2 separate regions of the Homo sapiens genome follow, and region 2 is linked to region 1. The links are contacts of gene promoters, found by promoter capture Hi-C in human tissues and cell types (Jung and others, 2019). All regions are on one chromosome and are shown on one strand. The core of a region is centred on a gene start or on the middle of the fragment in contact, and the rest is flanking DNA. Distances in the headings are between cores, read along the strand shown. Region 1 holds the start of CAMSAP3 (calmodulin regulated spectrin associated protein family member 3). Region 2 holds the start of PEX11G (peroxisomal biogenesis factor 11 gamma).

Evidence for each region. Contacts are between HindIII fragments. The study calls those that stand out against the background at their distance.
Region 2: the fragment with the promoter of PEX11G here is called in contact with the fragment with the promoter of CAMSAP3 in region 1 in 1 of the 25 tissues and cell types used here (liver).

The regions. Positions count from the first base shown.
Region 1 is chr19:7,592,640-7,600,448 of GRCh38, reverse strand. It overlaps CAMSAP3 (calmodulin regulated spectrin associated protein family member 3), which reads right to left and starts at 4,586. Exons shown (of 17, transcript NM_020902.2): 1 at 4,299-4,586. The coding sequence starts at 4,446. RefSeq lists an enhancer at 3,002-3,607 and silencers at 4,447-4,886, 6,950-7,150. The HindIII fragment of the contact is 16,585 bases long and covers 1-7,809 here.
Region 2 is chr19:7,485,620-7,493,428 of GRCh38, reverse strand. PEX11G (peroxisomal biogenesis factor 11 gamma) reads left to right here and starts at 4,394. Exons shown (of 5, transcript NM_080662.4): 1 at 4,394-4,478; 2 at 7,403-7,591. The coding sequence starts at 4,419. RefSeq lists silencers at 392-686, 4,208-4,537, 4,588-4,647. The HindIII fragment of the contact is 14,364 bases long and covers 1-4,598 here.

The DNA of each region.
Region 1 (7,809 bases), core at 3,337-5,836:
GGGTGGGTGGATGGATGGATGGGCGGGTGGATGGATGAGTCGGCGGGTGCATGGATGAGTGGGCGGGTGGACGGATGGGTGGATGGGTGGGTGGGTGGATGAGTGGGTGGGTGGGTGGATGAGTTGGTGGGTGGGTGCGAGGGTGGGAGAGTGGGTGGGTGGGTGGATGGATGAGTGGGTGGGTGGATGGGTGGATGGATGAGTGGGTGGGTGGGTGGGTGGAAGGATAGATGGGTGGGTGGGTGGATGGACGGACGGATGGGTAGATGGGTGGGTGGGTGGATGGGTGGGAGGGTGGGTGGGTGGATGGGTGGGAGGGTGGGTGGGTGGATGGCTGGGTGGGAGTGTGGGTAGGTGGATGGATGGGTGGGTGGATGGATGGATGGGCGGGTGGATGGATGAGTGGGCGGGTGGATGGATGAGTGGGCGGGTGGATGGATGAGTGGGCGGGTGGATGGATGGGTGGATGGGTGGGTGGGTGGATGAGTGGGTGGGTGGGTAGGTGGATGAGTTGGTGGGTGGGTGGATGGATGGATGGGTGGATGGGTGGGTGGATGGATGGGTGGATAGGTGGATGGGTGGGTGGGAGAGTGTGTGGGTGGGTAGGTGGGTGGGTGGATGGGTGGGTGGGTGGGTGGATGGATGGGCGGGTGGATGGATGGGCGGGTGGATGAGTGGGTGGATGGATGAGTGCGTGGTTGGATGGATGAGTGGGGTGGGTGGATGGATGAGTGTGTGGGTGGATGAGTGCGTGGGTGGATGGATGAGTGGGGTGGGTGGATGGATGAGTGGGGTGGGTGGGTGGGTGGATGGATGAGTGGGGTGGGTGGATGGATGAGTGCGGTGAGTAGGTGGGTGGGTGGATGGATGGATGGATGGATGGATGGATGGATGAATGAATGGGTGGGTGGAAGGATGGATGAGTGGGTGGATGGATGGGTGGATGGATGAGTGCGTGGGTGGATGGATGAGTGGGGTGGGTGGGTGGGTGGGTGGATGGATGAGTGCAGTGGGTAGGTGGGTGGATGGATGGATGGATGAATGAATGGGTGGATGGATGGGTGGATGGATGGATGAGTGGGTGGATGGATGGGTGGATGGATGAGTGCGTGGGTGGATGGATGAGTGGGGTGGGTGGATGGATGAGTGGGGTGGGTGGGTGGATGGATGAGTGCAGTGGGTAGGTGGGTGGGTGGATGGATGGATGAATGAATGGGTGGGTGGATGGATGGATGAGTGGGTAGATGGATGGGTGGATGGATGGATGGAAGGCTGATTGAGACAGGATCTCACTCTGTTGCCCAGGCTGGAGTGCAGTGGCGTGATCATAGCTGACTGTACCCTGGAACTCCTGGGCTCAGGCAATCCTCCTGCCTCAGCCTCCTGAGTAGCTGGGACTACAAGCCCATGCCACCACACCCAACCATTTATTTATACCATGACCTTCCCTGCATCCAGTCATTTAATCCTTACGACACTTATTATTATACCCCTTGTACAGATGAGAAAACCAAGGCCTGGAGAGCTGAGATAACTTGTCCAGGATAAAAATGTCCAACATGAACTTGAGTTTCCCTCACACATCACACATCTGTTCTGAAGGCATAAAGAACTGCATGGGGTGTTTTCCAAATGTGTTTAACATGGAACCCTTTGTTTTTTGAGACAGAGTCTCTCTCTTTCACCCAGGCTGGAGTGCAGTGGTGCAATCTCGGCTCACTGCAACCTCCGCCTCACAGGTTCAACAATTCTCCTGCCTCAGCCTCCCAAGTAGCTGGGACTACAGACGTGTGCCATCATTCCCGGCTAATTTTTGGATTTTTAGTAGAGACGGGGATTCATCGTGTTGGCCAGGCTTGGAACCCTTTCTTATCTAATCTCCAAGCTTGTGTTCTGCTTTTATTTCTGCACAGCCTTCTCACACCTGTGCCTTGGAGTTGCCAGAACTATCCCTTCCTCTGAGCCATCACTACTCCCACGGGGCCACTGCATACCTGATCTTGTCAGTTCCCAACACTGTCCGTGGCTCCCCAGTACCCTTGGATCCATAACCAGGGGCCTGAAGGGCCTTCCTCAGTCTGACCAGCCTCCCTTATCTCCCACCGCCACCCCGGGGACCTGCATCTTATTCTCTGAGAACTCCCTGCTGGTCCACACTCCGAGCCTTTGCCCACTGCCCACACATCTCTTCTCCGTGTCAAACTTCCATGCATCCTTCCAGACTCAAATCTTTCCACCTGTGGGATCTCTTCCCTCCCTGGAAGATTTCAAGAATTTCTTTCCCCAGGCCCCGCTGGCCAGCTTCCCTATGATCTGGTTTCCTGCCCATCCCCCTCTGCCCCATATCCATCCCCTGCCGTCTCCTCTACACCCTGAGCGCCCAGCCCAGCACCTGATAGGTATCATACCGTCAAGAGTCCCCAGAGCTCATGAATCTTGTAGAACTCTGCTCCCATTTCCTTCAGCCCTTCTCCTCTTTTTAGGGGAGTGGAACAGGGAACAGATTGAACTTGACCCTCACGGTAGAGGCAGCCACTGCCGTGTGTCACACAGCAGAGGGAGCTGGGTCAACAAGAACAGAACTGGGTGAGTCAGGGCACTGGGAGCTCACCAACACCCCTCATCAGAAGTTTGCTTTGCTGTCTTCAAAATGGGATAATTTCTACTCTGATTCCTGGCCAGGGGATAATGGATAACGTTAATATTATTCATCAAAATATACCACCGCCAATCACACCAGCAGCGAGCAACCGTTTCGCATGTATCACGCGCCCCGTGCCACGCGAAGAATTCTGTGGTCACTACAGCTTTTACGCCTCCCAGCAACCTTGCAAAGAGGTAACGGGGGGTCTCCATCACTGGAGCAGTGCCCTACACATAGCAAGTGCCCCTGCCCCACAAACATTCGCAAAACAGATAAGTCTGTGAATGAACGCCTTCTTTTATAGAAGGGGAAACAGAAGCTCAGATAATTGGGATAATTCGCATTCTGGTGCAGCTGGACTTCACATTCAATTCTGACACTCCACGTTGAGTTCTCTACAGCCTGGTAACCTTGGAAGTGAGGAGCTGGGGCTGTCCTGGCTGTCCAATGCCCAATCTCTTTCTTCCTCAAGCAAATATCTGCAGGGAGGTAGACCCCAGAGTGGGAAATGCATGCATGGAACGACGCAGACAGAGACTGTCTGGGAGAAAGAGGGACAGGCTGGGGCGGAACCAGGAGACGGACAGCTGTCACTGAGACCCACACCCAGAACAGGTTGATCTGGGAAGGCCAGGGAGAGGGGGGATGGGCTGTGCCAACACCAGTGGGCAGAACCAGTGGGAGAAAAGGATGTACCCCCACAGCTCCCCGCTGGAAAGCCCAGACCTTAATTAACCCCTGTCTTCTCTGGCCAGGCCCTGACTCCTAGCTCTGGCCTGGGGTTGTGAAGCTGCCCAAAGCCGAGACTGAGTGTTTCCAGGGCCTCTAATCCCGGGGACCCGGGATTACGGCATCCTCCCCATTAGGGTGGCTCGGGCTCTCAGGCAAGCGGGCCTGGGGGAGGGAGTGAAGGATCTGCTCTAATGGGAGAAGGCCCCGCAGCCGGGAGGAGCGGGGGGCCCACCCCAGGCGATCTTGTACTACCCATTTCCCTTCAGCTGGGCTCGCCAACCTCCCCAGTAAAATGGGGCCATAAGTCGCAGCTGCCAGGCGCTGGAGGGGGCTATGGAGGCGAAAGGGGGTTCCCAGAGCTCCCCGGTCGCCGCCCGCAGCGCGGCCAGGGCCGACGCGGGGTGTGTGTTGGGGCCTGGGGGTCGTGCGGTGGTGGAGACCGGAGCGCTCGAGACCCCCCAGCGAGGTCGGGGTCTGGGTCTCCAGGGTGTGTGGCGGGGGAAGAGACCGAGAGGAGATCCTCGCAGGGGCGTGATGTGTGTAAAAGAGAAGAAGGCGTGCAAGGGAAGGCCTTGGGGGTGCGGGAGGCGGGAACGAGAGGTCCGCACGGGGAGACCCCACCCGGCCCGCAGACCCCGCCCGGCTCACCTGGAGGCTTGGACGCCGGGGACCCCCGCGCGGAGCTGGGCCGCGGGCCCCACCCCCACCGCGCTCCCGCAGCCGGCGGGGCAAAGTCCACCGCCCGGGCCGAGCAGGAAGCTCGGAGGCCCCGGCGCGGCAGGGGCCCGAGCCCGGGGACCCCCGGCGGCCGGCGCTATTGTTCCCACGGCCCCCTGCCTTCCCGGCCCGGCGCCCCGCCCCCCCCCAGCACCTGCCGCGCCCGGCCCGCCGCCCCCGACCCCGGTCCCCCGAGCCCCGGTACCTGCGCCCCCGAACGCGGCCCGCAGCACCCACGCCAGGCTGGCCGCCGCCTTGGCCCGCGAGAAATCGTACTGGTCCAGCGACTTGATCTCGGGCACTAGAAAGGTCCTCCGCAGCGGCCCGGGCCCGGGGGGCGCCGCCTCCACCATGGCGGCGCCGGGGCTGCGGGCGCCGGGTCCGCGCTCGGACTGGGCTGGGCTGGGCTGCGCCGCGCTCGCGCCCCAGCCGGGCCCGCTGCTGCTACCGCCGCTGCCGCCGCCGCCGCCGCCGCCGCTGCTGAGCCAGGTGCGGCCGCTTGCGCTGGCGACGCTGCGTCGGGCCCGCCCCGGGGAGGAGCCCAGGTGCGCCCCGCCCCCGAACCCGGACCCGGACCCTGGCGCGCCCCTGCGCCCCGCCCGGGCCCCTCACTGCAGTGTGCACGGAGCAGCAGGGGCGGGGCGGAGGGGGGCGGCCTGGACTGCGGCGATGGTGGAGGGAGCTTGCGGAGGACTGAGTGTGTATGTGTGCGCGCGCGCGTGTGTGAGTGTGTGCGCGCGCGCCTAGCTTACTGGAAAGGATTAGGGACCCTCTGTGTGTGCCAGCCCCAGTGTCTACCCTTAGGCGTAGGAGCTCCTGCAAGTGCTTGCAATAAACGCCGGCCCTCAGGCAGAGAGTGGTTGGGTGCACCTGTTTCTGATTATGTTAGTGAAGGCACAAGAATATGAGTGTCTTCGTATCTGTGTATCTCTGAATACATTTGGGTGGTGACCAAGTGTATTGGGGGGTGTCTAGGGGTGTGTGTGTGTGGGGTATGTATCTGGGCACGTGTAAGTGTGTGTTTAATTTGTTGTGTGTACAAGGATATGTATTATATAGATGTCTGTATCCTGAGGATGGATGGAAGTGATGAGTGTGTGTCTGTTTTTTGTTTTTGTTTTTGTTTTTGTTTTTGAGACAGGGTCTCACTCACTCTGTCTCCCAGGCTGGAGTGCAGTGGCGCGATCTCGACTCACTGCAACCTCCGCCTCCCAGGCTCAAGCGATTCTCCTGCCTCAGCCTCCCGAGTAGCTGGGATTACGGGGTTGCGCCACCACTCCCGGCTAATTTTTGTATTTTTAGTAGAGTTGGGGTTTCACCATGTTAGCCAGGCTAGTCTCAAACTCCTGACCTCAGGTGATCACCCGCCTCAGCCTCCCAAAGTGCTGGGATTACAGGCGGCAGCCACCGTGCCCGGCTGTGTGTGTGTTTTTGGAGTGCTGTGAGTATGTCTATCTCTGTGCATCTGAACGTACTGGTGTGTTGTATGAGGCTGTTATTGATGCCTCTGTCAATGCAGGAGTATGGAGAGACATTGAGAGTGTGTGTATTTCAGGCCGAGAGCGGTGGCCACGAGTGTAATCCCAGCACTTTGGGAGGCCAAGGCGGGCAGATCACTTGAGGCCAGGAGTTCAAGAGTAGCCTGGCCAACATAGCAAAACCCCGTCTCTACTAAAAATAAAATTTTTAAAAATTAGCCGGGCATAATGGTGCATGCCTGTAATCCCAAGTACTCGGGAGGCTGAGGCGGGAGAATCGCTTGAACCAGGGAGGCAGAAGCTGAGATAGTGCCACTGCACTCCAGCTTGGCCAACAGAGTGAGACCCTGTCTCAAAAAAAAAAAAAAAGTGTGTATATTTCTGCAAGAGTGTGACTATTTGTGTCTATGAGTGTCCTTGCGTAGCTGTACTGGGTGTATTTGCAAGTGTCTTTGTGTATTATTCTGGTATCTGCAGTGTGTGCTGGGAGAAGGCTCTGTGTGGAGGTGAGGCTGTGTGTCTAAGTGGGTTTGTATTTGAGTATGTGAATCTGGCTATATGCACATGGATGTGTGATTGATTGATTGATTGATTTTTTGAGACGGAGTCTCGCTCTATCGCTCAGGCTGGAGTGCAGTGGTGCGATCTTGGCTCACTGCAAGCTCTGCCTCCTGGGTTCATGCCATTCTCCTGCCTCAGCCTCCCGAGTAGCTGGGACTACAGGCACCCGCCACCACGCCCGGCTGGTTTTTTGTATTTTTTTTTAAGTAGAGACCGGGTTTCACCATGTTAGCCAGGATGGTCTCGATCTCCTGACCTCGTGATCCGCCCAACTCGGCCTCCTGAAGTGCTGGGATTACAGGCTTGAGGCACCGCGCCCAGCAGATGTGTGATTTATGATGAGCAGTTCCTGACTATATTTTTGTGCATATATGTGTGTTTATATGTGAGTATCTTTGTGGATTTGAATATATGGTGGGTGCCTGTGACAGATTGTGTAGGCATGAAAGCAGGTATACCTGTGCAAGAATGCCTGTTTCTGCTGGGTGCAGTGGCTCATGCCTGTAATCCCAGTGCTTTGGGAGGCTGAGGCGGGTGGATCACCTGAGGTCAGGAGTTCAAAACCAGCCTGGCCAACATGGTGAAACCCCATCTCTACTAAAAATACAAAAGTTAGCCGGGCGTGGTTGCCCACACCTATAATTGCAGCTACTTGGGAGGCTGAGGCAGGAGAATCGCTTGAACCCAGGAGGCAGAGGTTGCAGCAAGCTAGGATTGCACCACTGTACTCCAGCATGGGCGACAGAGTGAGACTCCGTCACATTAAAAAAAAAAAAAAGAATGCCTGTGTCTGAATGCTTTTGTGAGAGTTCAAATGTGCATATTTATCTAGGAATTCATATCTGTGTAAGCAAATGTATTTCTGTGTATGAATCTGATTGTGTCTGTAAGTATGGAAGTGTGTGTGAACGCGTTGAGTACAAATATTTGTGTACATGAGTGCAATTGTGTGTTTATTTGTAAGGTCTAAGCACCGATTTGTGGATTTTTGGTTTTTTTTTTTCTGTTTGTTTTTTTTTTTTTTTTTGAGACCGAGTCTCGCTCTGTCACCCAGGCTGGAGTGCAGTGGTGCAATCTTAGCTCACTGCAAGCTCCGCCTCCCGGGTTCGCGCCATTCTCCTGCCTTAGCCTCCCCAGTAGCTGGAACTACAGGCGCCGGCCACCATGCCCAGCTAATATTTTGTATTTTTAGTAGAGACGGGGTTTCATTGTGTTAGTCAGGATGGTCTTGATCTCCTGACCTCAGGTGATCCACCCGCCTCGGCCTCCCAAAGTGCTGGGATTACAGGCATGAGCCACCGCGCCCAGCCGGATGTTTTTAATATTTTAATATTTGCTTTTGTTCTATTGTTTGTTTTGTTGTTGTTGTTTTATTTTTTTTTTGGACAGGATCTCACTCTGTCACCCCAGGCTTGAGTGCAGTGGCACAATCATGGCTCACTGCAGCCACCATCCCTGGCTAATTTTTTGTTTTGTGTAGAGATGGGATCTCCTTATATTGCCCAGGCTGATCTCAAACTCCTAGGCTCAAGGGATCCTCCCACCTCGGCCTCCCAAAGTGCTGGGATTACAGGCATGTGCCACTGTGCTTGGCCCTCCATTGTATTTTTGTCAAAATATCCCCTGCATGCCTCTTAGCTGTATATAATTGTGAATGCACAAGTGTTTGTGTGAGTT
Region 2 (7,809 bases), core at 3,145-5,644, 110 kb after region 1:
GAGCCCAGGAGTTTGAGACCAGCCTGGCCAACATGGTGAGACCCTATTTCTATTAAAAACTCCAAAAATTAGTGGGGGCGTGGTAGCAGGTGCCTGTAATCCCAGCTGGTTGGGAGGCTGAGGCAGGAGAATTGCTTGAACCCGGGAGGTGGAGATGGCAGTGAGCCGAAATCATGCCACTGCACTCCAGCCTGGGCAACCGAGTGAGACTCTGTTTAAAAACAAAAACAGAAAGAGAGAGAGACAGAGAGGAAGAAAATCACAGGAGTGGACAAGGCCTTTCTTGTGCCCCCTTGTGTTCCATGCTCCCTTGGAGCACAAGAAGAGATCTTTGGACAGGGCAGTGAAACTTACAAAACAGATTCTCTGTTTTCTGCCAGGCTGTGCGGATATAGCCATGAACAAGACAGGTCACCAGCAGGTAACATGGGTAGGAAGTGTCCAGGAGGGTGTGATCGGGTGGGTCCCGTGAGAGGATGACATTCGAGTAAAGGAAGTTAGGGAAGGAGGGAGCCACGTTGGTATCTGGCTCAAGAACATTTCTGCAGAGGAAACAGAACATGCAAAGTTCCTGAGGCAGGAATCTGCTGTAACTTTAAACAACAGGAGGAAAGCAATGCAGGAGAAGAGTAACAAGAGTTGAAATCAAGAGGAAATATTCTGTGAAAGAAAACTGGTTAACATCGAGGCCAGACGCGGTGACTCACGCCTATAATCCCAGCACTTTGGGAGGCCGAGGTGGGCAGATTTCTTGAGATCAGGAGTTGGAGACCAGCCTGGCCAACATGGCGAAACCCCGTCTCTACTAAAAGTCTAAAATTAGCCGGGCACAGTGGCGGGTGTGCTGTAATCCCAGCTATTTGGGAGGCTGAGGCATGAGAATCGCTTGAACCTGGGAGGTGGAGGTTGCAGTGAGCTGAGATCAGCACTGCACTCCAGCCTAGGCAATAGAGTGACACTCTGTCTCAAAAAAAAAAATTCAAACAAACCAACAAACAGACTCGTTGACATCATTAGTCATCAGGAAAAGGCAAAACAAAACCACAATGGGGTGGCACGTCACACCTACTACGATGGCTATCATAATCAAAAAAGGATGTTGCAAGGAAGTGGCGAAATTGGAACCTTTGTGTAATGCTGGTGGGGATGGAAAATGGTACTGCTACTGTGGGAAACAGTTGGGCAATTACTCAAAAAGTTCAACATAGAGTTACAAAATGACCCAGCAACCCCACTTCTAGGTATAGACCCAAAGGAATGGAATCCAGGGACTCCAACTACATATTCACAAATGTTTATAGCTGTACTTATTCACGATCGCTAAAAGGCAGAAACAGCCCAAATGACCATCAGCTGATACGTGGATAAACAAAATGTGGTCCATCCATATGGCGCAATGTTATATAGCTGCAAGTGGAATGAATTTCTGATACATGCTGCAACTTAGACAAACCTCAACACCATTATGCTCAGCTGCACGCAGTGGCTCACACCTGTAATCCCAGCACTTTGGGAGGCCAAGGCAGGAGGATCCCTTGAGTCCAGGAGGTCGAAACCAGCCTGGTGAACATAGCGAGACCGCATCTCTACAAAAGAAAAATTTTAAAAATTGGCCAGATGTGGTGGCGTGCACCTGTAGTCCCAGGCAATGTGGAGGCTGAGGCAGGAGGATCTCTCAGGCCCAGGAGTTCAAGGCTGCAGTGAGCTATGATCACACCACCGCACTCCAGCCTGGTGACACAGCAAGACCCTGTCTCAAAAACAAAAAGCAAAAACCAAAACAACCTATTATGCTTGGTGGAAGAGGCCGACACAAATGGTCACATATTGTATGATTCCATTTGTATGAAATATCAAGGAGGTCGGGCATGGTGGCTCATGCCTGTAATCCCAGCACTTTGGGAGGTCGAGGCAGGCAGATCCCTTGAGGTCAAGAGTTCAAGACCAGCCTGGCCAACATGGTAAAATCCATCTCTACTACAAATACAAAAATTAGCCGGGTGTGGTGGTGCGCACCTGTACTCTCAGCCACTTGGGAGGCCGAGGCAGGAGAATTGCTTGAACTTGGGAGGCGGAGGCTGCCGTGAGCTGAGATCATGCCACTGCACTCCAGTCTGGGTGACAGAGTGAGACTCTGTCTCAAAAAAAAAAAAAAAAAAAAAAAATCAAGAAGTGGTAAAAATACAGAGAGACAGCAGAGAATGCAGATTAGTGGTTGCCAGGGGCTGGGAGGAGGGAGGAATTGAGTGATTGCTTTATGGGAACAGGGTGTAGGGGAGGAAACATACTTTTTCCTTTATTCTTAGTTCTTAGCTGTGATGGATCCTTGCAATGAAAGAATTAAGAAGGGCGGGTGCGGTGGTTCACGCCTGTAATTCCAGCACTTTGGAAGGTCGACGTGGGAAGATTGCTTAAGCCCAGGGCTCAAGGCCAGCCTGGGTAACATGGTAAGACTCCATTTCTACAAAAAATAAAAAATAAAAAGAAATTAGCCAATTGTGGTGGCAGGCACCTGTGGTCCCACCTACTCAGGATGCTGAGGTGGCAGGATGGCTTGATCCCAGGAGTTCAAGGCTGCAGTGAGTTAAGATCGTGCCGCTGCACTCTACCCCTTTTTTGTGGGTAGTTGGTCAAGCTACCATGGGGCAGAATGTAGCAAGCTCTGGGCATCATCCTGGGTCCTCAGGCCCAGAGAGCACACAAGTGGCGGCTTCACATCTACAAATTTGGTTCCTCCCAGAGCGAGGCCCTGTCTCAAAAAAAAAAAAAAAAAAAAAAAAAAAAAATAGAGGCCAGGCGCGGTGGCTCACGCCTGTAATCCTAGCACTTTGGGAGGCAGAGACGGGCGGATCACGAGGTCAGGAGATCAAGACCATCCTGGCTAACACGGTGAAACCCCGTCTCTACTAAAAATACAAAAAAAAAAAAAAAAAAAAAATTACCCAGGCGTGGTGGCGGGCGCCTGTAGTAGTGCCAGCTACTCGGGAGGCTGAGGCAGAAGAATGGCGTGAACCCGCGAGGCGGAGCTTGCAGTGAGCCGAGATCGTGCCACTGCACTCCAGCCTGGGCGACAGAGCGAGGCTCCGTCTAAAAAAAAAAAATTAACAAGGGAAAAACAAATTTATTAACATGTGTACCTTATGTGTACATGGGAGATGCCAAGAGAAATGAGGTGGCTTATATAGCTTATATAACTCCTGCTTATATAGCACCTTCAACATATAGCAGCAAATTTTTGGAGAAGTGACAAGACGAAGGAAAAGGACATTGAGGCCGGGTGCGGTGGCTCACGCTTGTAATCCCAGCACTTTGGGAGGCCGAGGCGGGCGGATCACTTGAGGCCAGGAATTTGAGAACAGCCTGGCCAACGTGGTGAAACCCCGACTCTACCAAAAATACAAAAATTAGCCGGGCACAGTGGTGCACAGCTGTGATCCCAGCTACTTGGGAAGCTGAGGCACGAGAATCGCTTGAACCAGGGAAGCGGAGGACGCAGTGAGCAGAGATGGCGCTACTGCACTCTAGCTTTGGGGACAGAGCAAGACTCCGTCTCAAAAAAAAAGAAAAAAAAAAAAAAGACGTCTCCAGACAAGAGTCTAAAGGTGTCCCTGGTGATCAACCTTTGTCCTTCCTGGTAGAGAGGGGAGGAGGGCACCTTTGTACCTTTAGGTCCTGCTTTGAGGCAAATCAGGGAAGAACAGAGAGCTTTTCCGGTATCAGCTTCATTGATCTCAGCTCAAAATAATCCTACACCAAGGTCGCATATTTCAGAGGGGCATATGCTGGTCTCCTACGGGGGTCTCTCTTGGGGGTGATAAAAATACCCCGAAACTAGCAAGGGGTGATGGTTGTCCAACATGTGCATGTACTAATGTCACTGAATTGTGCATTTTTATTTTTTATTTATGTATTCTAGAACAATTCTTAACGTCCAAAGATAACGTCTTTCCTTAACGTCGAAAGATGCCTTGTTGTGATATTACAGCAGTCATTCCTGCTCACTACGGGCAGGCAGACAGTGCAGAAAAGGTGAAGCACAAAAACTAAAAAGGAAAATCTCTCCTTGAACCACTGCGAACAGGTTGGTGGTTTTGCTTGGAATATTTTTGGAGCGTGTGGGTAGTTGGTTAAACTTAGAAATATATTTTTTTGTGCGTGGGTAGTTGGCCAAACCGCCGTGGGGCAGAATGCAGCAAACTCCGAGGATGATCCAGGGTCTGCAGGCCTGGAGAGCACACACGTGTCGGCCCCACCTCTGCAAACTCTGTCCCTCCCCTACAGCGGACAAAAAGCCGGTCAGGGGGACAAAGGCCTGCGGCCGCGCCTGCGCGCAAGCCTTTGGGGCGCTCCCGGTACCCCGGCCTGGCCCCGCCCCCTGGCGCGGCGCGCCGACGTCGCGGTGACGTCACGGAGTTGCCATGGCGTCGCTGAGCGGCCTGGCGTCGGCGCTGGAGTCGTACAGGGGCCGGGACCGCCTGGTGAGGCAGGGGCGGACCGGGGCCGGAGGTCCTAGAGTTTGGCCCAAGCTCAGAGACTGGGAAACGGGCCAGAGAGGGGACGGGGTCGCCCAGGATACTCCGTCGCAGAGGCCCCGTCCGAGCTAGGCTCAAATGCGGTGCCCTAGCATTGGACATTTATGTATTTATTTATTTTGGCTGGAGTGCAGTGGTGCGATCTCTGCTCACTGCAGCCTCCGCTTCCCGGGTTCAAGCGATTCTCCTGCCTCAGCACTCCCGAGTAGCTGGGACTACAGGCGCCCGCCACCACTCCCTGCTATTTTTTTGTATTTTTAGTAGAGACGGAGTTTCATCGTGTTAGCCAGGATGGTCTCGATCTCCTGGCCTCAAGCGATCCACCTGCCTCGGCCTCCCAAAGTGCTGGGATTACAGGCGTGAGCCACCGCGTCTGGCCAGCGTTGGACATTTAGATAGTTTCTGCCAACCCAACCTGTCTGGACATTGACACACTGGCCAGATTCCCGTGTTTGGACGTTTTGGATCCGACCAGGCCACTGAAGTTGTCCTGAACAATCTCGTGTTGGGATTTGGGATGTTGCAGGGCTCCCCTGTGGCTGGACATTCACTTCCAACCAGATTCCCTATAGTTGGGCATTTAGGTTGTTTCAGCCAACCTAGACCAAAGAACACGCCATGGCCTGGGCCCTGCCATGCCTAAGCAGCGATGGGTTCCAACAAAACCCCAGTTGGTCATTTAGATCGTCTCTGCCAACCCAGCCTGGCTGGACGTTTACATACCAAACAGATTCCCATGTTTGGACATTTAGGATCTGACCGGGCCACTGTAGTTGGTCCCTGGGTTGTCCCAAACAATCTCATGTGGGGATTTAGGATATTGCAAGACTCTCCCTATGGCTGGACAGTTTTTAGTTCCAATCAAGTCCCATATGGTTGAACATTTAGGTTATGCCATCCATGCCCCTGAGTCTGGACTCTTAGCTTGTCCCCACCAGTCTCTTATAGGTAGACATTCAGGTTGTACCAGGCGGTGTACTGGTGGCTAGGCATTTAGATTCCATTCAAATATCTTATGATTGGGGGGGTGGGTTAACAAATCTCCCCCGAGTTGAACATTCAGATTGCAGTGTTTTGCCATTATAATGGGGCTGGAAAGGAATTACAAGTAAAAATAAATAAAACAACAGGAACAAGCAATTTCTGAAAAGCAGGTAAAATAAAGATATAAGGGAGGCCAGGCGTGGTGGCTCGCGCCTGTGATCCTAGCACTTTGGGAGGCTGAGCTGGGTGGATTGTCTGAGCTCAGGAGTTTGAGACCAGCCTGGGAAAAGTGATGAAACCTCGTCTCTACTAAAATACAAAAATTAGCCGGATGTGGTGGTGCGTGCCTGTAGTCCCAGCTACTTGGAAGGCTGAGGCGGGAGAATTGCTTGAACCTGGGATGCAGAGGTTGCAGTGAGCTCACACCTTTGCACTCGAGCCTGGGGAGCAGAGCAAGACTCTGTCTCCAAAAGAAAAAAGATCTGAGTAGTGAAGATGACCTATTTCAGAAGGCTCCACATCACCTACTGAGTAGGTTCTTTCTCTCTAAAGTAATTCTACCAAATTATCCTGTTGTTCACTGGGTTGAGGCCTGATCACCTGTGCCCACCATTCAGCACATCCAAAGGCTTTGGTCCAGGCAGGTAGATGTAAATATACACTTTAGCTGTGGCTTCCTGCCACCTGGGAAAAGAAGGACCTAGGAGGTGGGAAGTAAGGAGCTTTGTTTTCTTTGTTCCTGTCACATCTGTTCCCAAAGGCTGTGCCCTTCAGTTACATCAATGATGTCATGTTTCTTCATTTGTCCCACCTCCAAGTATGTTTTTAAACTTCCAGCTTTTTTTTTCTTTTTCTTTTTCTTTTTTTAGACAGGGTCTCGCCCTGTTGCCCAGGCTGGAGTGTAGTAGCACGATTACAGCTCACTACAGTCTGGAACTCCTGGGCTCAAGTGATCCTCCAGCATCAGCCTCCCAAGTAACCACCATGCCCTGTTAACTTAAAAAAATTTTTGGTAGCCAGGCGCGGTGGCTTACGCCTGTAATCCCAGCACTTTGGGAGGCCGAGGCGGGTGGATCATGAGGTCAGGAGATCAAGACCATCCTGGCTAAAATGGTGAAACCCCATCTCTACTAAAAATACAAAAAATTAGGTGGGCTTGGTGGCGGGTGCCTGTAGTCCCAGCTACTCGGGAGGCTGAGGCAGGAGAATCGCATGAACCCGGGAGGTGGAGCTTGCAGTGAGCCGAGATCGCGCCACCGCACTCCAGCCTAGGTGACGGAGCAAGACTCCGTCTCAAAAAAAAAAATTTTTTTGGTAGACACAGGGTCTTGCTATGTTGCCCAGGCTGGTCTCAAACTCCTGGTGTGAAGGCATCCTCTCACCTCGGTTTCTCAAAGTGCTGGGGTTACAGGTGTGAGCCACTGTGCCCCACCTAAACTTTCAGCTTTTACTGTCACTTTGTAGATTTAGAATCTTCCAAACTCTTGGGTCAGGCACGGTGGCTCATGCCTGTAATCCCAGCACTTTGGGAGGCTAAGGCAGGTGGATCACTGAGGTTATGAGTTTGAGACCAGCCTAGCCAACCTGGTGAAACCCTGTCTCTACAAAAAATATAAAAATTAGCAGGGTGTGGTGGTGGGCGCCTGTAATCCCAGCTACTGGGGAGGCTGAGGCACAAGAATTGCTTGAACATGGGAGATGGAGGCTGCGGTGAGCCGAGATCGTGCCACTGCACTCCAGTCTGGATGACAGAGTGAGACTCTTTCAAAAAAAAAAGAGAATCTTCCACACTCTCAATCCAGCGGGGCCCGGGGCCAGGTATGGGGGGATGCAGCTCAGTTCTGCAGAACAGGAGGGCCACACTGACTGCTTCTGGTTTCCCACAGATCCGAGTGCTGGGGTACTGCTGCCAGCTGGTTGGTGGAGTTCTGGTTGAACAGTGTCCCGCCAGGTCCGAAGTGGGGACACGTCTGTTGGTGGTGTCCACCCAACTCAGCCACTGCAGGACCATCTTGCGACTCTTTGATGACCTGGCCATGTTTGTCTACACTAAGCAATATGGCCTGGGGGCACAGGTAACAGGGTTTGTGGGGCTCTAGGGAGTAGGGTGCGGACCTGAGTGGACATTTTTTAAAAAATTTTTTGGCCCCTCACAGTGGCTCATGCTTGTAATCCCAGCACTTTGTGAGGCCAAGGCTGGCGGATCATGAGGTCAGGAGTTCGAGACCAGCCAGGCCAACATGGTAAAACCCTGTCTCGGCTGGGTGCAGTGGCTCATGCCTGTAATCCCAGC